Linked DNA regions of Homo sapiens: regions 1, 3, 4, 5, 6 and 7 are each linked to region 2. Evidence: promoter capture Hi-C in 16 types of primary human blood cells and fetal thymus (Javierre and others, 2016). All regions are on one chromosome and are shown on one strand. Each heading gives the region's core, a stretch centred on a gene start or on the middle of the fragment in contact. The rest is flanking DNA. Distances are from core to core; before and after follow the strand shown.

Region 1 (3,537 bases), core at 800-3,299, 1.5 Mb before region 2:
TGTGACTTTTAAAACAAAAGTTCTCATGGGATCATAAAGGTCATAAAGGTCAACCAGCCCAATCTCTTCACTGAACATAAGCACCACATCTCCGCTACCACCAGAAACATGAATCGCTTCTGCAACACATCTATTTTTGTAACAGTTTCTCATAACAACCACGAGAGGTTAGCAGAACAAATATTATTCATCCCCATTTTACAGATGACAGGTTAAGTAACTGAGACTCAACAGCCTACTTATAGTTGAGCATTATCCTGTAAAAAGCTTTGTTATCCTAAGCCACTGCTTAATCTTCCTGAACATTAGTTTTTCCCATCTGTAAAATGGTGACAATGTTACCTGCCTTTCAGAGTTACTGTGTAATTCCAATGAAATTCCAATCAGATAATGTTTGTGGAGCACCTGCTGCACAGCAGGTACTCAAGAAATACATACTTATTTTTATTCTTAAACTGGTTCCATGTGGTGTGGTGCTAGATCACACCCTGAACTAGGTTCAAGGAGGGCAAGTACAGCACTTTGGGAGGCCGAGGCGGGCGGATCACCTGAGGTCAGGAGTTCAAGACGAGCCTGGCCAACATGGTGAAACCCCGTCTCTACTAAAAATACAAAAATTAGCTGGGCGTGGTACTAGGTGCCTGTAATCCCAGCTACTTGGGAGGCTGTGGCAGGAGAATTGCTTGAACCCAGGAGGCGGAGGTTGCGGTAAGCCAAGATCATGCCACCGCACTCCAGGCTGGGAGACAAGAGCGAAACCCTGTCTCCAAAAAAAAAAAAAAAAAAAAGGGAGGGCAAGTCATAAAGAAAGAAGATTTTGAATCAATATAAACAACTTTCTGGCTGGGCATGGTGGCTCATGCCTATAATCCCAGCACTTTGGGAGGCGGAGGCAGGGGTCGGAAGTGGTCACCTGAGCCCAGGAGTTTGAGACTAGCCTAGGAAACACATTGAGACCCCATCTTTATAAAAAATAGAACAAATTAGCTGGGCATGGTGGTACATGCCTGTAGTCCCAGCTACTCAGGAGGCTAAGGTGAGAGGATGGCTCGAGCCTGAGAAGTCAAGGCTGCAGTGAATTGTGATTACACCACTGCATTCCAGCCTGGACAACACAGCAAGATCCTGAAAGCCTGATTCTGAGTCTGGACTTGCTGCTTAACAGCTGTGAGTACTTAGGTAAATCAATTCACTGGGCTAAGCCTCAATCTTCTAACTCAAAAAAAGTAACAGTAAAACAGTAAAATCTGTCATGCCATTCACAGGGTTGTTGGTAGGATCTAGTAAGATAATGGACTTGAATGTGCTTTGCAGACAAGAAACCACAGGATTTATAGCAGCTATGCTAACATGATCTCCAAGTACTTCAGGCACAACCTGAACAAAGTAAATGAAACCAGCTCTACACTCAGGTGAGACACCACTTGACAGTTTTCAGGAGGCCTTTCTTCCCGTTAGTGCCCCAAACAAAATGTCAAATCTCCTTAAGGAGGCTGATCTTTTTTTTCTTTTTTTTTTGAGACGGAGTCTCGCTCTGTCGCCCAGGATGAAGTGCAGTAGCGCAATCTTGGCTCACTGCAAGCTCTGCCTCCCGGGTTCCTGCCATTCTCCTGCCTTGGCCTCCCGAGTAGCTGGGACTACAGGCGCCCGCCACCACACCCGGCTAATTTTTTGTATTTTTTTTCTTTTAGTAGAGACGGGGTTTCACCGTGTTAGCCAGGATGGTCTCCATCTCCCGACCCTGTGATCCACCCGCCTCCACCTCCCAAAGTGCAGGGATTACAGGTGTGAGCCACCATGCCTGGCCAGGAGGCTGATCTTTAGAGCCAATGCTCCAAGACTCATACTATTTTTGTCAAAATAGGTAATCCAGTGTGAATCCCCTCTAGCAGCTGGAGGAGGATCAATAGCAAGACTAAATCCAGCCAACTCTCTTACCCTCCAGCCTTTTGTCATGGAGACTCCAAGTGCTACTACGTAAGTAATGGCTCACCTGAGCTCAGGGGAATAGACACTGGGTTGGGTCACAGTAAGCCAACGCAAGAGAAGGGCAGGTCTCATTGTCCATGGGATTCCAGAGCCAACCCCCGTACAGGCACATGAAGGCTACTAGCTTTACTAATAACACATCTAGAGGACACTTACTGGGTGTCAACTGTGTTCTAAGTGCACCGTTACACTGCTAGCTTTACATGCATTCTCTCAATTAATCCTCAGAACAACCCTATAATATAGGTACTATTATTACTTCATTTTTTTATTTTTGTTTTGAGACAGAGTCTCGCACTGTCGCCCAGGCTGGAGTGCAGTAGCGCGATCTCGGCTCACTGCAAGCTCCGCCTCTCGGGTTCACGCTATTCTCCTGCCTCAGCCTCCCGAGTAGCTGGGACTACAGGCGGCCGCCACCACGCCCGGCTAACTTTTTTTTTTGTATTTTTAGTAGAGACAGGGTTTCACCGTGTTAGCCAGGATGGTCTCGATCTCCTGACCTCGTGATCCACCCGCCCTGGCCTCCCAAAGTGCTGGGATTACAGGCGTGAGCCACAGCACCCGGCCTTTTTATTTTATTTATTATTTTGAGATGGAGTGTTGCTATCGCCAGGCGGGAGTGCCGTGGTGCCATTTCAGCTCACTGCAACCTCCACCTCCCGGGTTCAAGCGATTCTCCTGCCTCAGCCTCCTGAGTAGCTGGGACTACAGGTGTGCACCACCACACCCAGCTAATTTTTGTATTTTTAGTAGAGATGGGGTTTCACCATGTTGGCCAGGATGGTCTCTCTTTTTTTTTTTTTTGAGATGGAGTCTCACTCTGTCACCCAGGCTGGAGTGCAGTGGTGCAATCTCAGCTCACTGCAAGCTCCGCCTCCCGGGTTCAGGCCATTCTCCTGCCTCAGCCTCCTGAGTAGCTGGGACTACAGACGCCCGCCACCGCGACCGGCTAATTTTTTGTATTTTTAGTAGAGACGGGGTTTCACCCTGGTCTCCATCTCCTGACCTCGTGATCTGCCCGCCTTGGCCTCCCAAAGTGCTGGGATTACAGGCATGAGCCACCGCACCCAGCCTACTTCATTAAAAAAAAAAAAAAAAAAAAAAAAGATGATTAAGCTGATGCTAGAACAATGAACAAACTTGCCCAAGGTAACACAGCAAGTAAGTGGTGAAACTAGAACTCAGGTGCAGGCGGTACTACACCTCTGTATGGCAAACATTTCTTTTTATTTTTCCACTGCTAGAAGATACACAGTATATATGGTATACATTTCTGTCTCCCTCACAGAGTATGTGCTTCTCAAAGTTAGGGACTAGGACTTCATCCTTGCATCTCCCACAGCATCTAGCACAGAGCTCTGCATATAGTTGGGGCTAAAGAAAAGTTTATTGGACAAAAGGGCTGTTTCTGTTTGCACAGACTAAAATCTAGTTACTTGGGCATACTAACAATTTAGATGGCTCTTGAGCCGTTTGCTTGAGCCTGCTCCTGCTATGTGGAGTGTACTTTCATTTCAATAAATCTGTGCTTTTGGTGCTTCAAGAAAC
Region 2 (3,515 bases), core at 373-2,872:
GCAGGTGGACGTCCTAGGTGCCCAGGGAGTTCGGGCTCACTGGGGAGTAGGGTGAAGGAAACCCTGAAACCGAGAGGCTGGAAGCCCGACTTGCGCAGCATAAAAACACCTGCAGGGGGAAAGCCTACATGAGGTACGGGTTGTCATCCCGTCTCATCTTGGCCATCTGACTGATGGAGATCCTCAGGCACCCAGCAGACTGGGGTGTCACCCCCACTACCCACTGCCCAGGGCTGACCTCGGGCGGAAGAGCGACATTCAAATATTTGTTGCATATGGAGCAACAGACCAGGGTGGAAGAGAGAGAAAGGACTTTCCAGGAAGGTCCAGGCTTGCCAGGACTTCTATGCTTGGACTGCTCTGTCCCCAAGCTCGCTGGTGCCCATCAGGAGCCTGCTTGGCACCTTTGCTTATTTCTTCGATTGTTCCTCAACTCAGAGGGGGAGAGGCAAGATTATCACTCCCATAGCCTATAACATGCACGCTTAAACACAACCCCTCTGACATGGCTTCAGACCGCATCCACAGGTGAAAAGCACCAAATCCAAACAATCAGGCCACAAACCCGTCAAGAGCTCGCCGGTCTGGCCGTCCAGTCGCCGCCCGCCTTGAGACTCAGCCTGAGCTACAGCTTCGAAACTAGCCTCTAGCCTTCTGGGTCTCAGCACAACTCTTGAGCAATCCAACCCTGTGGCCGTGGGCAGATACCAAGATGCACAGTTAGCACCTCCGACAGGACCGCGGCTCGGCGGGGCTCGCCGTCTACACGCCCATTCCCAGGCCCACGGCCACGACACCCAGAGCTGCCTCCTGCCCTGGGCTCCCTGGAGCCTGGTGGCCGCGGCTCATGCTGCAGTCACCGTGTGGCCAGCTGCCAAGCGCCACTACTTGCACCTGAAGTCGCAGCCCCGCGCTGCGCACCCAGTCGAGGCGCCAACACGCGAACTGGGCGGGAGTGGCCGGCCCGCGGGGGAGCGAGGAACGACAGGGTTCCCCCCACTCGCTGCCCAGACTGGCCGCGGGATAGCGCGCCCCCCCCAAAGCCTGCACCCCTGCCCTGCTCCTCTATCATTCCGTCCCCCTTGCTCTGTCAAACCCTGCCGGGGCTGCTCTGTCTCTGCCGACCCGCCACTTGCCCGAAGTTCGGCCTGAGGAGCTTGGGGCCCTGAGGAGCGCCGACGTAGGCAGCCAGCCAGTCAATCAGTCAGAGGGTCACGGCGGCCCCTCGGCTACTCAGTGGCAGCCAGGCCAGAAAGAAGCAGCCGCCAACCCTGGAGCAGAATCCTACAGCCGACCTGACCTAGTAGGCCCCCAGCCCTCCAGAGCTTGGGGTATTGCAGAGCCGCCACAAGGCCTGCCGGGAGTAGTAGTTTGTATAGTTCGCAGCCGGCCAGGGCGGAGCCGGGTGGGTTGGTGGGGAGGGCGGGGAAACAAGCCTGGACCACAACTCCCAGGAGTACCCGCGACGGCGGCGGCCTCGCTGTCGCACTCAGGCTATAGGGGGCGCATTGGGCGGAAGACCCTGGGCCGGCAGGAACTTGCTTGTGATTGGATGTTGTGGGACGGCGGCTTCTCATTCGTCAGCCTGTGACTGTGGAGTTTGAATTGGGTGGCGGTTGACTGTAGAGCCGCTCTCTCTCACTGGCACAGCGAGGTTTTGCTCAGCCCTTGTCTCGGGACCGCAGGTACGTGCCTGGCGACTTCTTCGGGTGGTCCCCGTCCGCCCTCCTCGTCCCTACCCAGTTTCTTGCTTCCCTGCCCCATCTCCGCCGCTCCCCGCAGCCTCCGCCGAGCGCCATGGCTCCTAGGAAGGGCAGTAGTCGGGTGGCCAAGACCAACTCCTTACGGAGGCGGAAGCTCGCCTCCTTTCTGAAAGACTTCGACCGTGAAGGTAAGGGGCCAGGCCGTCGCGGCCTCCTGGGGCGGTCGCGGGATGCTGGCGGGTGGGGACACGAGCTGCACAGATTCGCCCGCCCGTGACCCGTGTCCTGTCGGCTCTGCCCTCCCGCAGTGGAAATACGAATCAAGCAAATTGAGTCAGACAGGCAGAACCTCCTCAAGGAGGTGGATAACCTCTACAACATCGAGATCCTGCGGCTCCCCAAGGCTCTGCGCGAGATGAACTGGCTTGACTACTTCGGTAAGAGCTGGAGAGCTTCCCTGGGCGGAGGCCAGGAGCCCCTTGGGGTTAGGTGACACCCTTCAGAAAGGGCTCGCTCAGATGTCACCTTTTAATGAGATCTGACATGACCACTTATGGAAAATTGCAGACCCTTTCACTCTCTGTCTCACTTCCCTACTTCATTTTTCTCTATGAAAAATGGGGGGGTGGTTGGGGGGCGGCGGGCGGGGCGGTCTCTGTCGGACAACTCAGCTCTGCTGTTTACAGGTCCAAAACAGCTGTAGTGAATGGGCATGGATGGGCTGTATTCCAATAAAATTTTAGTTATGGATACACTGAAATGTGAATTTCACATAATTTTCACACATCAGGAAATTTATTTAATTTTTTTTAAACAGAGTCTCACTCTGTCACCCAGGCTGGAGTGCAGTGCAGTGCAGTGGTGCGATCCCTGCTCACTGCAACCTCCACCTTCTGGGTTCAAGTGATTCTCCTGCCTCAGCCTCTGGAGTGGCTGGGATTACGGTCGCCTGCCACCATGCCCCGCTGATTTTTGTATTTTCAGTAGAGACGGGGTTTCACCATGTTGGCCAGGCTGGTCTCGAACTCCTGACCTCAAGTGATCCACCTACATAGGCCTCCCAAAGTGCTGGGATTACAGGAGTCAGCCACTGCGCCCGGCCAGAAAATAGTATTTTTAAAAATATATGTATATTTTACCCATTTAAAAATGAATGAATAAATGACATGGTTAGTTAACCAGAGCTCAGATAGAAGAATAACCCGAAGCAGCTCCTTCTGCAGCTTATGGAAATTGCTAACCTAAAAATGGGCGCATCAGGCTGGGCGTGGTGGCTCACGCCTGTAATCCCAGCACTTTGGGAGGCTGAGGCGGGCAGATGACCTGAGGTCAGGAGTTCGAGACCAGCCTGACCAACATGGAGAAACCCTGTCTCTACTAAAAATACAAAAAAGTTAGCCGGGCGTGGTGGCGCATACCTCTAATCCCAGCTACTCTGGAGGCTGAGGCAGGACAATCGCTTGAACCTGGGAGGCAGAGGTTGCGGTGAGCTGAGAGCACGCCATTGCACTCCAGCCTGGGCAACAAGAGTGAAACTCCGTCTCAAAAAAAAAGACACATCAGTTTTCCTGGCCAGAGAAAAATCCCAGCCTGTTTCTGCACTCCCTTATTAAATGTCCGGAGAAATGCAGGAGGCTGTACTTTTCTGCTGGGTTGCCCTTTTCTGTTTTCCTTATTATTAACTATCCAGCATGTAGTCTCCTTCCTGGATAGAAATGCATGGTCTGCTCACATATTAGACATTGAATGATCCTTTTGACTTGCCCTTTTATTTATTAAGCCATTCATTTGCTTATTTCTCCAAATACTGAG
Region 3 (3,965 bases), core at 516-3,015, 1.6 Mb before region 2:
TGCTAGCTCTGACCTCCCTGAAATCTCCCCTAAACCACAGGTTGGGCATGGAGGAGCGTCCATACTCCAGCCGCCTGAAGAAGATTGGAGAGCTTCTAGACCAGGCATCGGTGACCAGGGAGGAAGTGGTGTCTGAGCTAGGTGAGTGGGTCTGCCTGGGATTGTCTCTCCCTCTGTCGTCCTTCAGGGTCGGTCTTGGGCTCAGGGGAGCATGGAGTCATGCCTGCCGTCGCATTGTACCCTGGGCTGCTGTGACACGGAGTCAATGGCAGGGTTGAGCTCAGCGCTTCTTGCTCTGAAGCTACAGCACCCTCAGCCTTGTGGACCAGTGTCCCCAGAAATGGCAGCTGGCCACTAGTCGTAAAAATGTTGATAATGGATTTTATTTGTCTAGCATCTATACTGGGCGTTGTGCAGAATGCTTCACAGACACGATCTCGCTTCATCCTCACAACAGCCCTGTCAGAGAGTTGCTAACGTTACTCCCTGTCTGCTTAAGGAGTTGAATCTGGGAGCAGGAAGCTTAGCGGTCCCCTAGGTAACTCTCCCAGTCACGCAGCCAGTGTGTGGTGGAGCCAGGATTTGAGCCCAGGTGGTCTAACTGTAGAGCCTGAGATCTTAGTCACAGCCTGCTTGAAGCCGAGAGTGCTGACTTGTGTCAAATGGTAGGAGGCCTGGGGAAGCATGCAGCCCCTCTAACCTGGCTTCCCCACAGGGAATGGCATTGCTGCCTTTGAGTCGGTACCCACCGCCATCTACTGCTTCCTACGCTGCATGGAGCCAGACCCTGAGATCCCTTCTGCCTTCAATAGCCTCCAAAGGACTCTCATTTATTCCATCTCACTTGGTGGGGACACAGACACCATTGCCACCATGGCTGGGGCCATTGCTGGTGCCTACTATGGGATGGATCAGGTGCCAGAGAGCTGGCAGCAAAGCTGTGAAGGCTACGAGGAGACAGACATCCTGGCCCAAAGCCTGCACCGTGTCTTCCAGAAGAGTTGATGAGGGCTACAGCTGTTGGGGCTCTGCCAGGTCCCCTGGGACCAACTACAGCTCCAATCAGAAACCCTGCGCTTCCTTGAGTGTGGCTTCCCACTTTTCCTGCATTGTGGAGCTGACTGAGTACACCGGTGAGGCTGGGGTCTCTGCAGGGGAGGTCACTGGAACAGCGAGCAAGGGACTGGTGCCTCGCTGGTGCTGGGTCTCTGGTTTGCTGCAGAGCCGTAGGACACTCCTGGCTCCTCAGTAGGACAGACAGACGCAGGCGGGTTTATTTTGGAGGGGTACTTGTGGCATTTTCCTGTATTGTCTTGGACATGGGATGTGGGGAGGTGGAAATGATGAGCAGTAGCATCATTTCTCCCTGTTGGGTTTTAGCCAGTTTGCCAGCAAGCGCATCCTAGCAGGGTCCCCGAGCAGCAGGTTGTGTGGATGAAGGGACAGGCACTTGCATCCAGCTGATCTAGGTCACACCTGGCTCTTGGCTGCCATGTGGCTTATTAACAGCTTCCAGTGGAAGTCGCAATAAACAGTTTTTGGTAAATCTCACCACTGTTTCTTGTTTCTCCTGCCCTGAATGGATTCTCCCCTGCCAGCCTGATCTCTGAAGACTAGTGCCTTTGTCTGTGCTGCACTGTCATAGAAGCTGGGGCCCCAAGGCCATGAGCTGCTGTGTTGCCAGGCACTCCAGCTGGCTGCGTGTTCAGCCAGGAAGGGCACAGCAGGCATGGTCTGGTGGCTTTTCCTGTTAGAGATCACTCAAAGTGGCCCAGGCTGCTGGGCCGAGTGCTTTGCCAGAGGCAGCGGGTAGGAACAAGCCAGATTTTTCTGTTCTCAGAGCCTGACTTCCCCAAACAGGAGCTAGGCCCAGCTGGGCCAGGAACAGGAACCCTGTAGAAGGATCCAGAGGGCCCTGCTATCATCAGACTACCAACCTTTGGGTGGGGAGGGCACCATCACGGGGCCCCGGGTGGACTGAGTGCCGTGTGCCTCCTCCTGTATCTTGGGACCAATCAAAAGCCTTTCCCTGCAAGGAAGTTTTACACAGCATGTTTTTAGAGATGGGGTCTCACTCTATTGCACAGGCGATCCTCCCACATGGGTTCCCAAGTATCTGAGACTAGCATCCATTCTGAAGAAGGGAAAATTGAAAGGGGGAAGATGCCTCCCCTCAAACTCCAGGGACATTCTCTGAGCATCCAGCCTCAGTGGCTAGCCGAGCATGTGCAGTCTGCAGCTGCCCTGCGGTTTCAGCACTCTCGGGCAGATCTGTTTTAGTGAAGATAGGGTTCTGGCTAGGCTGAGGACTCTTCAAAACACAGATTGCTTCAGGTCTGCCACCCAGACCCCCAGCGCCAGGGACAGATCTTTCGTGGCTGAGCATGGCAGGCTGTGAGCAGGTGCTTTCCGCCCAGGACAGCTCCCCCAGCCTGTCTTCAGCACTGGGCCTGACACTAGCCCAGCCCTTAGGAGCAAAGATTCATGATTTCATTCATAATTTGTATCAGATGTTGAAACTTGGCCCTCGGACTACTGAGCCAGCTGTCATGCTCCACTAGCCCTGAGAGCTTGCAGGAATATTCCAGTAAAGATTGAGCCATCGCCCCCAGCTCCAGCCACTACCTGCCTTTGGTTTCTTAAAATGCCTCCTGGCATTTGCCTGGCGCATGGCCTCAGCAGCTTACGAGCATCAGGCATTTGTGATGTGGTGGTGACAGAAATCCAGGTTAGGGAGCTGGTGAGGAGTGCATGATCCTTAAGAGCAGGCACACAAGCCCCAGAGAGCTTCCTGGACACCTTACAGAACCCAGAGGCTTGAGATACCTCTGTGTCAGTATCAGTTTCAGCACAGTGCTGTTTTATACAACAGGTTTTATTGAGGATGTGTCAATACAGTTAACATGGTTGCTTGTCTTTTCAAAAAGAAGTTCCATTTTCTTTGATTCCCAAGTGCATTTTTCCTGAATCTTCTGTGATACAGGGCACATGATAGGTATGTAGAGAGCTAAGCTTCCTATACCAAGTTAGAAGTGAAATGACTAGTGGAAAACATTTAAACTTTAATCTTAAAAAAAAAATAGGAATCAATATAAAAATGCACAAGGTAATGTCGTTTTCATAGTTAAAATCTGACATTGTTTATCAAAGCTAGTCAGTTAAGTGGACACCTGCAACTCAAATCCCATAAACATTTTAGAAACGCCAACCACCCCTCCTGAAAGGTTTGAGGAATGAAATTTGGCAGAAGCTCAGCTCTGTGAAATAGCTCCCGTTTTTTTTCTTGGGACCCTACTTAGTTCCGTGGGCTCCCATTGGGAGCTGATTAATTTCTGCCAATCAGAACCCATCCCTAACACATCAGATGATAGTGGCTTTGACCTAGGGAAGAAGAGGTTGAGCGAAGAACCCCCACCAGGTATGGTTTGAGAGTCCTTAGTTGGTTTTCTTGGGCGTTAGGTAGTAAGAAATCCACCAGGAACCCCAGCCAAAACCTTCTCAAGTGTCACTTGGGCAGATTTGGGTTATCATTCCTCCTTTTGAAGAAGTGAGCAAACAGCCTGCTTTGTTTGGAGAAGTTGTGGGCAGGGGAGGAGGGTTGGCAAGGAACCTGAAGGAACCCACTGCTCAGCCAGTCAGAAGTCAGCAGCCATCCTCCATTTTCAACATGGACCGCCTGGACACAGCCAGACTTGGAGCAGTGCAACGAGATCACAGACCGAATGACCCCAGTTCACACTTGGTACAAGGAGTGGGGCTGGCCTGGCGAGGGCCGAGCGCGAGGCCCTGCAGCTGCGGGGAAAGTGGCCATCTTTGCACGAGCAGGAATGTCCACCACTCCCAGCACTCATCTCAGCCTTATCCACTCCGCTTGACGTAGGGACTGAGGGGTTGGGAGGGGCATCCTGCCTGTTTCCTGCAGAGGAGCTCTGATCGGGGAACAGGGCAGAAACGTCCAGAGCCAA
Region 4 (3,886 bases), core at 549-3,048, 1.9 Mb after region 2:
GGGGCCCGAGCGGGGGGAGGGCACGGCGGGCCGGGCGGGCGGCTCACCCCCGGACCGACGGACGGAGACCGACGGACGCCAAGCGCTGCGGCGGCGGGCGCGGGGCAGGCCGGAAGCGTACGAAAGTGACTTCCCCGCGGGTTCTCCGAGGATTCGTTTTTTCTTTTCCTTTTTTTTTTTCAGGATTTTGAAGCGTTTTCAGATTTTTTTTATCTTTTTCTCTTTTTTTCCTCAGGCTGCGAAGCCCGAAAGCGGCGGAGGCGGCAGCGACCCGGGGCGGAGAGAGGCGGCCGAGGGAGCCACCGCTCCATTTATACCCGCCCGCCCCGGGCGCTGCTGGTCGAAGGGCGCCTCGCGACCTGGGCGCAGTCGTGCCCGCCCACTCGGCCCGGGGGCCCGAGGCGGGGCGGCCACGCGAGAGCGACCCGGCGCGGCCGCGCGGCGCTACAGCGACCCCTGGCGCCGGGAGGACCGCCCAGCTCGCGGCTGCGGGAGACCCCAGGGCCCCTTTCTATAACAAATAAATCTTAACACCCTCCCACCCATCACCCGGGAATGGAACCTAGGAGCCATTTAACCTGCACACACGCATGAGGTTTAAAATTAAATGGTATGGGGCTGGGTGCAGTGGCTCACGCCTGTAATCCCAGCACTTTGGGAGGCCGAGGCGGATGGATCATGGAGGTCAGGAGATCGAGACCATCCTGGCTAACGCGGTGAAACCCCGTCTCTACTAAAAATACAAAACATTAGCCGGGCGTGGTGGCATGCGCCTGTAGTCCTAGCTACTCGGGAGGCTGAGCAGGAGAATAGCTTGAACCCGGGAGGCGGAGGTCGCGGTGAGCCAAGATCGTGCCACTGCACTCCATCCAGCCTGGGCAACAGAGTGAGACTCCCTCTCAAAAAAAAAAAAATTAAATGGTATGCCAAATTGTGAAATGAAGGTGACATAAAATAAGTTAAAATAAAATAATAGGTGGTCCAATAGGTAAATGTCTGGGTCCAAATACAATAAAGATTTGAGAAGTTTTCAGGATACCGTTGACCTAGAGGTAGAATCGTCAGGAACTAGAAATGCAAGCAGTATCCATGGGTGATGGGATTTTCTGAAAAGATGAGCACATTTTGGTAAAGCTTCAATGAAACCAAACACAAGCATCCCCTCTATTGACATGCTGGTGGCATTCCCGGACATTTAGTTTGTGTTTAAGGGCACAGAAATACTTTCTGTTCCTATGTTTAAAGTTTCTTCTAGGCTTGGATAATTATAAAAAGACTTTTCATCTGCATGAGAGTCTGGCAGGTCATTTGAAAGTCGTATCACAGGCCAGGCGTGGTGGCTCACGCCTGTAATCCCAGCACTTTGGGAGGCCGAGGCGGGCGGATCACTGAGGTCGAGAGTTCGAGACCAGCATGACCAACATGAAGAAACCCCCGTCTCTCCTAAAAATACAAAAAGTAGCCAGACATGGGGGTGCATGCCTGTAATCCCAGCTACTCAGGCGGCTAAAGCAGAAGAATCGCTTGAACCCGGCAGGCAGAGGTTGTGGTGAGCTGAGATCATGCCATTGCACTCTAGCCTGGGCAACAAGAGCGAAACTCCGTCTCAAAAAAAAAAAAGTCATATCACTTTATAGGACTATGTTATATGGGACTGTCCACACGCATTACAAGATATATAGCATCCCTTCTTCCATAAGTGCCAGGAACCACCTTTGCCATCACTGTGAAAACCAAAAACAGAAATTGCCAAAAGACACAGACATCCCCCTTCAAAAGCACTGATTTAAGTAAATGACTAAAGAAATATGTGTATTTATATATTAATTAATTCAAATAAATGGTTAATCTGAGCCTACTCTATGCCAATGTCAATACAGGGGCTGGAGATACCATGGTGGACCAGAAGTCACTCCCTCTCTCATGGAGTTTATATTCTAATAACTATATTAAATCAAGAAACATTGGCTGGGCACGATGGCTCACACCTGTAATCCCAGCACTTTGGCAGGCTGAGGTGAGCGGATCACCTGAGGTCAGGAGTTCGAGACCAGCCTGGCCAACATGGTGAAACCCCATCTCTACTAAAAATACAAAATTAGCCGGGCATGATGGCACGTGCCTATAGTCCCAGCTACTTGGAAGGCTGAGGCAGGAGAATCGCTGGAACCCAGGAGGCAGCGGTTGCAGTAAGCTGAGATCATGCTACTGCACTCCAGCCTGGGTGACAGAGCGAGACTCCGTCTCAAAAAAAAAGGAACATTTATGGGAGTGCTCCTTCTATAGATTCCCTCCTCAGGAAAGTCTTCCTAGACCTCCTGTGGTCTAAAGTAGCCGTCAACATTGTTAATCACTATCACACCAACTTGTCTTCTTGTCTTCAAGCCTGTTATTCCTACCCAAAATTATGTTGTTCTATATCTGTTTACCTGTTTAGTATCTATCTTTTCCACATTGGTATATAAGCTTCATGAGAACAGGAATCTAGAATAGTGCTTAACATAGCACGTACTAAATGTTCAGTAACTGGCCAGGCAGGTGGCTCACACCTATACTCTCAGTGCTTTGGGAGGCTGAGGCAGGAGGATCGCTTGAGCCCAGACATTTGAAACCAGCCTGGGCAACAGAGTGAGACCCTATCTCTACAAAAAAAAATTTTCTTTTAATTGGCTGGGTGTGGGGACACATGCCTGTGGTCTCAGCTACTTGGGAGTCTGAGGTAGGAGGATCGCTTGAGGCCAGGAGTTGAAGGCTGTAGTGAGCTATGATCATGTCGCTGCACTCCAGGCTGAGCAACAGAGTGAGACTCTGTTACTAAAAAATAAATAGATAAATAAATATTCAATATATGTTTGTGTGTGTGTGTGTGTGTGTGTGTGTGTGTGTGTGTGTTTTCTTGTTTTTTTTGTGGGGGGGGTATGAAATCTTCCTCTGTCACCGAGGCTGGAGTGCAGTGGTGCAGTCTCGGCTCACTGCAACCTCTGCCTCCCAGGTTCAAGCAATTCTCATGCCTCAGCCTCCCAAGTAGCTGGGATTGCAGGCATGCGCCACCACACCTGGCTATTTTTTTTTTTGAAACCAACTCTCGCTCTATTGGCAGGCTGGAGTGCAGTACTGCGATCTAGGCTCACTGCAACTTCCGCCTCCCGGATTCAAGCAATTCTCCTGCCTCAGCCTCCCGAGTAGCTGGGACTACAGGTGCGTGCCACCACACCTGGCTAATTTTTGTATTTTTAGTAGAGATGGGGTTTCACCATGTTGGCCAGGATGGTCTCAATCTCTTGACCTTGTAATCTGCCCGCCTCGGCCTCCCAAAGTGCTGGGATTACAGGGGTGAGCCACCACGCCCAGCCTTTTTTTTTTTTTTTTTTTTTTTGAGACAGAGACTTGCTCTGTCACCCAGGCTGGAGTGCAGTGGCGTGATGTCGGCTCACTGCAACCGCCACCTCCCGGATTCAAGTGATTCTCCTGCCTCAGCCTCCCAAGTAGCTGGAATTACAGGCACCCACCACTATGCCCAGCTACTTTTTGTATTTTCAGTAGAGATGGGATTTCACCATGTTGCCCAGGCTGGTCTCCGACTGCTGACCTCAGGTGATGTATTCGTCTCGGCTTCCCCAAGTGCTGGGATTACAGGCGTGAGCCACACACCCAGCCTGTGTATTTTTTTTTTTGTTTTTTTGTTTTTTTTGAGACTGGGTCTCGCTCTGTTGCCCAGGCTGGAGTGCAGTGGCGCGATCTTGGCTCACTGCAAGCTCTGCCTCCCGGGTTCACGCCATTCTCCTGCCTCAGCCTCCCGAGTAGCTGGGACCACAGGTGCCCACTACCACGCCCGGCTAATTTTTTGTATTTTTTAGTAAAGATGGGGTTTCACTGTGCTAGCCAG
Region 5 (3,724 bases), core at 1,168-3,667, 1.8 Mb before region 2:
CATTTATTCTAATATTTCTTAATATTTTCATGGCTCCTATCTTCCACTGGATATCTTTCCGTTTTCCTCTCCCCACTCCCCAGAAACTGTCAGGGCTGTCTTTAGAGCCAAGATCTAAACCCTACAAACACGTTGGAGGATGGGGGAGTTTATAGCCTTCATCCTGGTGAGGCCTAGGTGATAGCCTTAACTTCTTATTTGCAGGCAATGAGGAGGAAAAGACATAGGAACAGAGGATAAACTGAGGCAGGATTGCCTCAAGAAAACTGGAGTCCTTAGGATGGGCTGTGGGGTGGTGATACCTCTTGTGTCTTAAGTGTCTTACCCTGTGATGGGACGAGGAGCCTGGACCTGGGAATCCTTCAGGTCATCTCTCACCACTTCCTTACATTTGGTCTGGGGATGGGAATCAAATTTCCATTTAGGCCATGAACTTCATTACTTTCCTAGTGGAATTATTTTGTTTTTTTTGTAGCAGACCTAACTCCCTCCCACCCTCCCAAGGAAATAGCTCCTACGACCTCACTCAAGTTATCCATTTAGTGATCTCTAAGTACTTAGTGACTGTTTTCCCTCTTAACAACCAGCCTTGTATAGACTGTGTAGTCGTAAGGATAAGCACAGGGAGCAACTGACTTGAGTACTTCCTCTCTGTCAGGACCCTCTCTCCATCCCAGGAACTTCTGTTTTTCAAGGCTGGGGACTATTTCCAACAACCCATGAACTAGAGTAGTGGGGTAGGTCATTGAGGTCCACATGGATTGCTGGTTGCTGGTACCCATTCTAGACTAATGATTTTTATCCTGATGAATTCCTAATAGGCTCTGGAGTGATGAAAAATTGACTTTTTAAAAATTTGTTACAAAAAATAAGCTTATAGGAAAGGAGCTAGAACCTGCTGTTTGGAGTCAGCCAAAGCCTTGGGAAAAGCCGAATAGGACAGGCTTTGCCTCAGTAAAGGGTATAATTGAGATTCAGTCTGGAAGCTGCAAATTGAGGGACCCCATAACTGCCTCCTTCCTAGGCCCGGACTGTTCTCTTATAAGAAGTTAGAGTGGTGTCCCAAGGTGGCCTGAGGACATAATACACAAAACTAAAGCGTTGTGTAAAAAACAACAACAAAAAACCCCCCAAAAACTAAAGCATTGTTGCTAGCCTCACTGGGCTTATGCCCAGGTCTGCCTTCTGTGCTCAGGTGTGTTCCAAGCACATACAGTGGACTGGGTGCTCCCTGAGGGTAGAAGCAGTGTCTGGTTTATTTGTAGAACTAGCAAGTGCCTAGTGTATAGGCCCTGGCACAGAATACATGTTTATTAATTAAATCAAATCACATTCAAGTGTGAACATAAATGGTTAAGCACGTATGTGGATATTTAATAAAGTGTATACTCACATGGAACAGATCCTTTTTGGAGAGATTGGCTTGTTAGTCTTTGCTTGCCCACCAGCTAACCTAACCTAACCTAACCTTGAATTTGTGTCTTTTGAATAGGCAGTCTGGCTCCTTGGGAGGTGTGTGGGCCTCAGAACTGCAAGAAAGGAATCCTGAGCCAGGGTTTTCAGCTCTGTTACTTTTCCTTCTCTGGGCTCCTTGGGGATGGGGGAGGGGGAGTGTCCTTTTCAGGGCCCCTCCCTCCTTGCTTTTGTCTGAAGAGAAGGGTCCCGCCCCTTTCCCCCTAGGCCCAAGCTTTGTCCTCTGTGCTGGGGCCCTCATCTGCATCACAAAGTGGCCGTCTGTCCCTGTCTGGGTCTGTAGGGAAGTGTCTCCCTTTCTCAGACTAAAAGCTGGGGTAAGGGGGGCGGGGAGGAGACAGTGCTGTTGTTAGGCTTTCAGGGGGATGTAATGGGAGAGAGGTTCCTGCTTCCTGCTGTCTTTCCTAGTTTGGAGATGAAGTGGGGGTGTGGGCTCCCCTGTTTTCCCAAAGCCTCTTTGGAGAGGAAGGTGCTCTAAGGCTATGTGTGGTATGTAGTCGGGTTTCTGGGGAAGAGAAGGCTTTGAGGCTAGAGTGTCTGTCCCATCCCCCATCATTTCTAACTAGCCCCCCAGCTCTAGGAGTTATCTTTCTCCGAAGGCCCCAAATGATTATTCAGTCTGGGAGGGGAAGAAGGTGAATGAAATATAAGAACTTGGGGAGGGAAAGGATGTCTCTTACTGGCTACACCCACAAACGTGCATATTTGTCTTGTGTAGTGTTTATAATTGTTTCTGGGCAATTGCAGGTGTTCGTGTGTCTGTGTGCTGTGTGTGCTTGTGTGTTTTTGTGGTGTGTCTATGGATATGTTTGTTCATTCATTTCATATCAGTATGTTGAATACTTCCTGTGTGTGTGTCAGACACTGGAAATTAAACAGTGACCAAGGCAGATATAGTCCCTGCCTTTGAAGAACTCAGTCTAGGGCAGTGAAGGATATGTGTGTAAGTGTAAATTGCCAAGGTCTAAGTGTGTGTTTGGATGTGTGTGATGGGGATGTGTGTCTGTCTGTCCGTGAGCTTGTGTGCAATTTCTGTCCAGCACTTTCTGAGGTAGGCAGCCAGGTGCTAGTAGATAGGTTTTCCCTTCCCCATGTAGCTGAGTTCTGAAGACCTTTTCCATCCAGGCTGGGCCTTCATTTCCCTGTCTGCAGAGTGGGACTGGGCTTGGACAGGTGGTTAGAGGGAAACAGAGCAGCTTAGCTCTGGGAAGCTGCCCCTCCCATGAATGGTTCTGACCTCTTCCTGACCCCCAGCTGAGGGTATGCCCCATCCCCCCAGCTTGTCTGACTGTGAAAGCAGAAGTCTGATAATGGGAGGTTCTGGGCTGGTTTATCCCTCTCTTCTCCCACCTGGGCTAGTTCTCTACTGCCAAGAACAATAGCAGCATATTATTCCCTTTTTTTCTCTCTTCCCCCCAAGCTAGAAAATAAGACTGGAGACAGCAGCCAGACTGGCAAAAGAGGGTAAAGTAGCTGGATCTGGCCTTACCCTATCCCTTTCCCAAGGGCCTCCTCTGTCTTGAAATTGATCTCTTCTGCTGCTGTCTGGACCTTCTGTGTGGAAGGATCTGTGGGGCATGGAGAGAATCTTGTGTTCTTCCCAGAGCCAGTGTCTCTTCTCCAGCATTCTAATTGCCACCTCTTCTTCCCAAACCCGTTAGTTCTTTCTTTATTCAAGCTTTTTTTTTTATCATTGTCTCCCCAGTTGCTGCTTTGTTTCTTCCTGCCTGAGCTTCCAACCCTAACCTCTTTTGCCCCACCCCTTGACTCCAGCCTTCTCTTTCTCCTGGCCTTTTTCTTTTGTGACCTCCAGCTCTGTCCTCTTCTCCAACCCCCTTTCTCTTTTCCTTAGTCTCCAAACTCTGTCCTTTGAGCCTTTTCTCCTTTTCCCTGTCTCCAACTCTCGCCATTCAGTTGCCTTAATTCTGCCTCAAACACTGACCCTGCCCTCTCCAGCCTGGCCTTGTCTGGATCTTATTCCTGCCCACCTATAAAGGAACATCAAGGTTATGCCATTTTGTATTCAGCATGGTGGCGAATGGAGTGAGCATCTGGCTGGCAGAGAATAGAAATTCTTGGTCTGCTAGATACCTGGTGGAGGCAAGTGTCTTACTCTACTAGAAGAAAGAAAGGGTTTTGTTACTAGGAGCCAGATTTAGTCTCTCTGCTTAACATGCAATAGGAACTTATTATATATTAACTTAATGAATTAAAAATAGACAATAAGGATAATTTTCCTAACTGGAGAGAG
Region 6 (3,583 bases), core at 426-2,925, 1.3 Mb after region 2:
TTTAAAAAAATCCCATGCAGTGGCTCATGCCTGTGATCCCAGCACTTTGGGAGGCCAAGGTGGGCGGATCACCTGAGGTCAGGAGTTCAAGACCAGCCTGGCCAACATGGTGAAACCCCGTCTCTACTAAAAATACAAAAATTACCTAGGCATGGTGACAGGGGCATGTAATCTCAGCTACTCAGGAGGGTGAGGCAAGAGAATCGCCTGAAACTGAGAGGCAGAGGTTCCAGTGAGCTGAGAACACACCACTGCACTCCAGCCTGGGCGACAGAGCGAGACTCCGTCTCAAGAAAAAAAAAAAAAAGATGGCCCGGCACAGTAGCTCACTCCTGTAATCCCAGCACTTTGGGAGGCCGAGGCAGGCGGATCACAAGGTCAGGAGTTCGAGACCAGCCTGACCAACATGGTGAAACCCCGTCTGTACTAAAAATACAAAAAAATTAGCTGGGTGTAGTGGCTGGCGCCTATAGTCCCAGCTACTCGGGAGGCTGAGGCAGGAGGCTGAGGCAGGAGAATGGCATGAACCCGGGAGGCAGAGCTTGCAGTGAGTCGAGATTGTGCCACTGCACTCCAGCCTGGGCGACAGAGCGAGACTCTGTCTCAAGAAAAAAAAAAAAGAAAATAAAAAAAAGATTTTGATAAATTGATACCAACAGGAGGCATTGTAGTAAGGTGGAAAGAACATTGGATTGGGAGTTAGGAGAGTCAGGTTCTGATGCTGGTTCTGCCACCACTCATTTGTTGTTGGTTGATTAATTTTAATTTATGTTTTGAGACAGCGTCTCACTCCCGTCGCCCAGGCTGGAGTGCGGTAGCGTGTTCACAGCTCACTGCAGATTCAACTTGGGTTCAGGTGATTCTTCCACTTCAGCCTCCCAAGTAGCTGGGACTACAGGAGTGCACCACCACGCCCAGCTAATTTTTTGTATTTTAGCAGAGACAAGGTTTCACCATGTTGCCCAGGCTGATCTCGAACTCCTGAGCTCAGGTGATCTGCCTGCCTTGGCCTCCCAAAATGCTGGGATTACAGGTGTGAGACACTGCACCTGGCCCTAATTTTGATTTTATTTATATAAAATAGAAATGGGGTCTTCTTGTGTTGCCCAGGCTGGTCTCAAACTCCTGGGCTCAAGCGATCCCACATTGGCCTCCCAAAGTGCTGGAATTACAGGTGTGAGCCACCACACCCATCCTGTTAGTCGTGTTTTTGAGACAGGGTCTTGTTCTGTCACCCGGGCTGGAGTGCAGTGGCGTGATCATAGCTTACTGCACCCTCAAACTCCTAGGCACAAGTCATCCTCCTGCCTCAGCCTCCCAAGTAGCTAGGACTACAAGTGCATGCCACCATGTGCGGCTTTTTAAATTGTTTATAGAGACAAGGTTTTGCTATGTTTCCTTTGCTGATCTTGAACTCCTGGCCTCAAACGATCCTCTTGCCTGGGCCCCCCAAACTGCTGGGATTACAGAAATGAGCCGCCACGTCCAGCAAACCACCACTAGTTTTGTGACTTTGAGCAAGTCACTTTCTCTTAGTCTTCATTTCCTTATCTGAAACAATTAAAGAATTGCTCTAAGGTCACTTCCTAATCCTGTGAATTTATGAATAGATAAGTTACCATTTTCAGGGTCACCTTAAGTGAACAGATACCTCCCTGTAAGTGAAGAAGCTAGTGAGTCAGAATTAGAATCAAGTCCTATTGTAAGTTCTTAGCATATTATAATGCATGTATTTCTCACAACAATCCTATGAGATGAGTTACTATTAGTTTCCCCATTACACAGTTAAAAATTTAACTTTGGGAGGCTGAGGCGGTGGATTACCTGAGGTGAGGAGTTCAAGACCAGCCTGACCAACATGGTGAAACCCCCTCTCTACTAAAAATACAAAAAATTAGCTGGGTGTGGTAAGGGGGTGCCTGTAATCCCAGCTACTCAGGAGGCTGAGGCAGGAGAATCGCTTGAACCCGAGAGGCGGAGGTTGTAGTGAGTTGAGATTGCGCCACTGCACTCCATCCAGCCTGAGCAACAAGAGTGAAACTCTGTGTCAAAAAAACAAACAAATGAACAAACAAAATTTAAGGCAAAGAAAAGTTAAGGACATTGCTTGAACTTACATAGCTAGTAAATGGTGGAGCTGGGATTTTATCCTGGCAAGGCTGGCTTCAATACCTATGCTTTTATCCAGAGTTACTGCTTTTAGCTCAGAGAAAGATTTGACATATGGTATTGTCATAGTTCAAAACCATGACTAGTCTTGTGTTGGGAGACTCTAAGATAAATGGTAAGAATGTAGTCTTTTAAAATGGTTAATGTTTATTTCAGGGTTTTTTCTACTGAAGTTATATCAACACTACTTCTTTAAGGTTAATGAGACGTTTAACTGAATATACTAATTTTTCGTATCTTTGTGAAAAGTTAGTCATTGGTTAAAAAAATTATGTCAGAAACTAGTCTAGGCACTAGGAATACAGTAAGCAAAACAGCAAAAAAAAAAAATCTCAGAGTCAGTGAGCTTATGCTATAGTGGGAGGAAGAGCAGAAAAATAACAAGTAAAAATACAGGTGATAATAAGTGCTGTGAGGAGAATAAACAGAAGGATAGAAAGTGCTAGGGGCAGGAGCTAGGTGGATGCTACTTTAAATAGTCAGAGAAGATCTCAGCAAAAGAAGACAGACCAGAGACTTAAAGAAAGTGAGCTATGTGGTTATGAGGGAAGAATGTTCCATGCAGAGGAAACAGCAAGTGCAAAGGTCCCTGAGCTGACTGGAGGGAGCTAGGGGAATATTAAGAGATGAAGTCACTGGAGTAGGCCTTGTAAACCATGATAAGGATTCATCTTTTTGTCTCAGTAAGATAGCCATTGCAGGGTTTTGAGCAGAGGAATAATGTGATCAGATTTAGTAAATTTTCTGTGTCACAGAATCCAGGGACCAGTTCATTGTTGTGGCTTTGACACACTTGTGTAACATAGTTTTGATTTGTTGAGAAGCAACCAATGCCCTGAGTAGAAGAGACAGAATTCAAGACTCAGCGGTGACTAGTGGCTGAGTAAGAATCAGGCCTTTACTTCCATATGGGGAAAAGAGAACTCATATTGGCTATTTCTGCTTCATTCATACCCATTGCATAGTCACCAGCAGCAGTGCCACTTCCACATAGAATATGTAAGTGCTTGCCGGGTGCGGTGGCTCACGCCTGTAATCCCAGCACTTTGGGAGGCCGAGGCTGGCGGATCACGAGGTCAGGAGATCGAGACCATCCTGGCTAACATGGTGAAACCCCATCTCTACTAAAAATACAAAAAATTAGCCGGGTGTGGTGGCGGGCGCCTGTAGTCCCAGCGACTCGGGAGGCTGAGGCAGGAGAATGGCGCGAACCCAGGAGGCGGAGGTTGCAGTGAGCTGAGATCGTGCCACTTTGTCACCCAGGCTGGAGTACAGTAGCGCGATCTCAACTCACTGCAACCTCCGCCTCCCGGGTTCAAGCGATTCTCCTGCCTCAGCCTCCTGAGTAGCTGGGACCACAGGCGCGCGCCACCACGCCTGGCTAATTTTTGTATTTTTAGTAGAGACAGAGTTT
Region 7 (3,977 bases), core at 442-2,941, 1.5 Mb before region 2:
AAGTGCTGATGTAGAAACTGAATCAAATTTTGCAGGAGATCTAGCTAAAATAATTGATGAAGGTGGCTAAACTAAACAACAAATTTTCTCTTTTTTATTTTTATTTTTTTAGATGGGATCTCACTCTGTTGCCTAGACTGGAGTGCAGTGGAGCAATCTCGGCTCACTGTAACCTCTGCCTCCTGGGTTCAAGCGATTCTCCTGCCTCAGCCTCTCAAGAGGTTGGGATTACAGTCACCCGCCACCATGCCCAGCTAACTTTTTTTTTTTTTTTAAAGTAGAGACGGGGTTTCACCACATTGGAGAGGTTGGTCTCGAACTCCTGACCTTTGGTGATCTGCCTGCCTCGGCCTCCCAAAGTGCTGGGATTACAGGCGTGAGCCTCCGTGCCCGGCCCCTGACAGATTGTCAATGTAGATGAAATAGCCTTCCACTGGAAGCAGATGGCATCTAGGACTTTCATAGCTAGAGAGCAGAAGTCAATGCCTGGCTTCAAGGCTTCAAAAGACAGACTGATTCTCTTTTTTCAGGCTAATGCAGCTGGTGATTTTAAGTTGAAGGCGATGCTCATTTACCATTCTGAAAATCCTAAGGCCCTTAAGAATTACGCTAAATCTAATCTGCCTATGCTCTACAAATGGAACAACAAAGCCTGGATGACAGAACTTTTTTCTTTTTTGGGATGGAGTCCCACTCTGTCACCCAGGCTGGAGTGCAATGGCGTGACCTTGGCTCACTGCAACCTTCACCTCTGGGTTTAAGTGATTCTCCTGCCTCAGCCTCCTGAGCAGCTGGGATTACAGATGCACACCACCACGCCCAGCTATTTTTTGTATTTTTGTACAGATGGGGTTTCACTGTGTTGGCCAGGCTGGTGTCAAAGTCCTGACCTCAAGTGATCTACCCATCTCGGCCTGCCAAAATGTTGGGATTACAGGTGTGAGCCACTGTGCCCAGCCCTAATGTTGTTTTTATGCCTGCTAACATGATGTCCGTTCTATAGCCCATGGATAAAAGAGTAATTTTGACTTTCAAGTCTTATTTAAGAAATACATTTTGTGGCCAGGTGTGGTGGCTCATACCCATAATCCCAGCACTTTGGGAGGCTGAGGTGGACTGATTACTTGAGGTCAGGAGTTCGAGACCAGCCTGGTCAAAAAATGGTTTACGATACAATCAACTCTTGTTGTAAATGTTGTGAAGGCTGGGTGCAGTGGCTCATATCTGTAAATGAATGACAAGAATGAATAAATGAACCCAGCACTTTAGAAACCCAGTGCAGGAAAATCACTTGAGCCCAGGAGTTTGAGACCAGAATGGGCAATATACTGAGACCTCGGCTGGGCACAGTGGCTCACGCCTGTAATCCCAGCACTTTGGGAGGCTGAGGCGGGTGGATCACCTGAGGTGAGGAGTTCGGAACCAGCCTGACTAACATGGCGAAAACCTGTCTCTACTAAAAACACAAAAAATTATCTGGGTGAGGTGGCGGGTACCTGTAATCTCAGCTACTCGGGAGACTGAGACAGGAGGATCGCTTGAACCCGGGGGCGCAGAGACTGCAGTGAGCAGAGATCGCACTACTGCACTCCAGCCCAGGCAACAGAGTGAGACTGTCTCAAAAAAAAAAAAAAAAAAAATATATATATATATATATATATATATAGTGAGACCTCATCTCTACAAAATAATTTTTACAATTTTAGCTCAGCATGGTGGTATGCACTTGTAGTCCCAGCTACTTGGGAGGCTGAGGCGAGAGGATCCTTTGAGCCTGGGAGATGGCGGTTGCAGTGTGCACATATTGTGGGCCACTGCACTGCAATCTGGGTGACAGAGTGAGACCCTATCTCAAAAAAAAAAAAAAAAAAAAGCTGCGAACATTGTTGAAGTGACAACACAGGATTTAGAATATTATGTAAAGTTGGTTGATAAGACACCAGCAGTATGTGAGATGAGTGAGTCCAATTTTGAAAGAAGTTCTGCTGTTAAAATGCTATCAGAGCACTGCACGCTACAGAGAAATCTTTCATGAAAGAAATAGTCAACTTTTCATTTTCTCAGTGGATGAAAAGGGAAAAAAAAAAGAAAGGAAGAGTAAATGGATGGGGCAAACTTCATTGCTCTCTTATTATCAGAAACTGCCACATCCACCCCAACCTTCAGCAGCTATCACCCTAGTCAGTCAACAGCCATCAGCATAAAAGCAAGACCCTCCACCAGCAAAAAGTGACCACTTGCTGAAGGCTCAGATGACAGCATTTTTATTGAGACAGTTTTGCTCTTGTTGCCCAGGCTGGAGTGCAATGGCGCGATCTAAGCTCACTGCAACCTCCGCCTCTTGGGTTCAAGCGATTCTCGTGCCTCAACATCCCGAGTAGCTGGGATTACAGGCATGTGCCACCACGCCCAGCTAATTCTTTTGTATTTTTAGTAGCGACGGAGTTTCACCGTGTTGGTCAGGCTGGTCTTGAACTTTTTTTTTTTTTTTTTGAGACGGAGTTTTGCTCTTGTTACTCAGGCTGGAGTGCAGTGGCACGATCTCGGCTCACCGCAACCTCTGCCTTCTGGGTTCAAGCGATTCTCCTGCCTCAGCTTTCTGAATAGCTGGGATTACAGGTGCCCGCCAGCATGCCCAGCTAATTTTTTGTATTTTTAGTAGAGACCAGGGTTTCATCATGTTGGCCAGGCTGGTCTTGAACTCCTGACCTCAGGTGATTCACCAGCCTCGCCCTCCCCAAGTGCAGGGATTACAGGCGTGAGCCACTGCGCCTGGCCTTGGTCTCAAACTTCTGACCTCAGGTTATCCACCCGCCTTGGCCTCCCAGTGTTGGGATTACAGGTGTGAGCCACCACGCCAGGCTGACAGCATTTTTAAGTAATATTCTTTATTAAAGTATATATATTTTAGGTCATAACACTAGTGCACACAATAGACTACAGTATGATGTAAACATACTATATAACTTTAATATGCACTGGGAAACTTGGACTAACCTTACTGCAATCTTTGCTTTATTGTGGTGTTCTGGAACTGAACCTGCAATATTTGAGATATGCCTGTATTTCTTTTTTTCTTTTCTTTTTTTTTGAGACGGAGTCTTGCTCTGTCGCCCAGGCTGGAGTGCAGTGGCATGATCTCGGCTCACTGCAACCTCCACCTCCTGGGTTCAAGCGATTCTCCTGTCTCAGCCTCCTGAGTAGCTGGGATTACAGGTGCCCACCACCACGCCCGGCTAATCTGTAGTATTTTTAGTAGAGAACGGGTTTCGCCATGTTGGCTGGGCTGATCACGAACTCCTGACCTCAGGTGAGCTGCCCGCCTCGGTTCTCCCAAAGCGTTGGGATTACCGGCGTGAGCCACCGCGCCCGGCCTATGCCTGTATTTCTTAAAAGGGGAGCCAAAATTATGTATTTTGGTATCCATCTAGTTTACTACCGTGTTCCCAGTATTTTACACTGGGCATTGTATACAGTAGACACCCAGAAAATCTTTGAATTTAAAATTACATTGGTTCAGCCCCGTGGCTCACGCCTGTAATCCCAGCACTTTGGAAGGCCGAGGCAGGTGGATCACTTGAGGTCAGGAGTCTGATACCAGCTTGGCCAACGTGGCGAAACCCCGTCTCCACAAAAAGTAGAAAAATTAGCCGGGTGGTGGCATATGCCCGTAAAATCAGCTACTCAGGAGGCTTAGGCAGGAGAATCGCTTGAACCTGGGAGGCAGATGTTGCAGTGACCCAAAATCGCACCACTGCCCTCCAGCCTGGGCGACATAGGGAGAATCTCAATAAATAAATAAATAAATAAATAAAAATAAAATCAATTAAATTAGAACGTTTTAAGAAGCACTGCGCAGTACGTCGACCACAAGAAGTGCTCAAAGAAGGAAGAAAGAGTAAGCCGTGTGCAAGGAATGCTGCCGAAGCCACTAAGGGCAAGGGCTGATGTGGCGTGGTCTGCTACTTGAGTTGAGC

The links. The method cuts DNA at HindIII sites, captures the fragments that hold promoters and counts their contacts. A CHiCAGO score of 5 or more calls a contact.
Region 1: a fragment that was not itself captured here is called in contact with the fragment with the promoter of CDCA8 in region 2 in 4 of 17 cell types (total CD4 T cells, fetal thymus, neutrophils and 1 more); the score reaches 5.6 in total CD4 T cells.
Region 3: a fragment that was not itself captured here is called in contact with the fragment with the promoter of CDCA8 in region 2 in 2 of 17 cell types (fetal thymus and non-activated CD4 T cells); the score reaches 6.8 in fetal thymus.
Region 4: a contact is called between a fragment that was not itself captured here and the fragment with the promoter of CDCA8 in region 2, in 3 of 17 cell types (total CD8 T cells, fetal thymus and naive CD8 T cells). The highest score is 7.4, in total CD8 T cells.
Region 5: a fragment that was not itself captured here is called in contact with the fragment with the promoter of CDCA8 in region 2 in 1 of 17 cell types (fetal thymus); the score reaches 5.7 in fetal thymus.
Region 6: a contact is called between a fragment that was not itself captured here and the fragment with the promoter of CDCA8 in region 2, in 2 of 17 cell types (fetal thymus and naive CD4 T cells). The highest score is 5.9, in fetal thymus.
Region 7: a fragment that was not itself captured here is called in contact with the fragment with the promoter of CDCA8 in region 2 in 1 of 17 cell types (fetal thymus); the score reaches 12.1 in fetal thymus.

Annotation. Positions count from the first base shown.
Region 1 is chr1:36,143,522-36,147,058 of GRCh38, forward strand. All of the region lies in intron 1 of TRAPPC3 (trafficking protein particle complex subunit 3), which reads right to left. Among named protein-coding and RNA genes, the nearest start is that of TRAPPC3, 4.2 kb to the right of the region's middle. The HindIII fragment of the contact is 3,569 bases long and covers 266-3,537 here.
Region 2 is chr1:37,690,894-37,694,408 of GRCh38, forward strand. CDCA8 (cell division cycle associated 8) reads left to right here and starts at 1,623. Exons shown (of 10, transcript NM_001256875.2): 1 at 1,623-1,891; 2 at 2,012-2,140. The coding sequence starts at 1,798. It also overlaps a transcript of AIRIM not described here. RefSeq lists enhancers at 364-874, 875-1,384, 1,157-1,346, 1,385-1,895, 1,896-2,404 and silencers at 677-736, 757-926. The HindIII fragment of the contact is 4,527 bases long and covers 1-3,515 here.
Region 3 is chr1:36,092,382-36,096,346 of GRCh38, forward strand. It overlaps ADPRS (ADP-ribosylserine hydrolase), which reads left to right. Exons shown (of 6, transcript NM_017825.3): 5 at 41-141; 6 at 716-1,551. The coding sequence ends at 1,005. COL8A2 (collagen type VIII alpha 2 chain) reads right to left here. Exons shown (of 4, transcript NM_005202.4): 4 at 2,858-3,965. Among named protein-coding and RNA genes, the nearest start is that of ADPRS, 5.5 kb to the left of the region's middle. The HindIII fragment of the contact is 2,490 bases long and covers 521-3,010 here.
Region 4 is chr1:39,576,505-39,580,390 of GRCh38, forward strand. It overlaps PABPC4 (poly(A) binding protein cytoplasmic 4), which reads right to left and starts at 286. Exons shown (of 16, transcript NM_001135653.2): 1 at 1-286. RefSeq lists a silencer at 231-540. The HindIII fragment of the contact is 1,332 bases long and covers 1,133-2,464 here.
Region 5 is chr1:35,884,509-35,888,232 of GRCh38, forward strand. All of the region lies in intron 1 of AGO1 (argonaute RISC component 1), which reads left to right. Among named protein-coding and RNA genes, the nearest start is that of AGO1, 3.2 kb to the left of the region's middle. RefSeq lists enhancers at 1,274-1,913, 2,551-2,610. The HindIII fragment of the contact is 1,464 bases long and covers 1,686-3,149 here.
Region 6 is chr1:39,030,115-39,033,697 of GRCh38, forward strand. All of the region lies in intron 2 of NDUFS5 (NADH:ubiquinone oxidoreductase subunit S5), which reads left to right. Among named protein-coding and RNA genes, the nearest start is that of NDUFS5, 5.6 kb to the left of the region's middle. The HindIII fragment of the contact is 4,854 bases long and covers 1-3,583 here.
Region 7 is chr1:36,219,334-36,223,310 of GRCh38, forward strand. It overlaps a transcript of THRAP3 not described here. Among named protein-coding and RNA genes, the nearest start is that of THRAP3, 3.1 kb to the right of the region's middle. RefSeq lists an enhancer at 3,907-3,977. The HindIII fragment of the contact is 6,098 bases long and covers 1-3,977 here.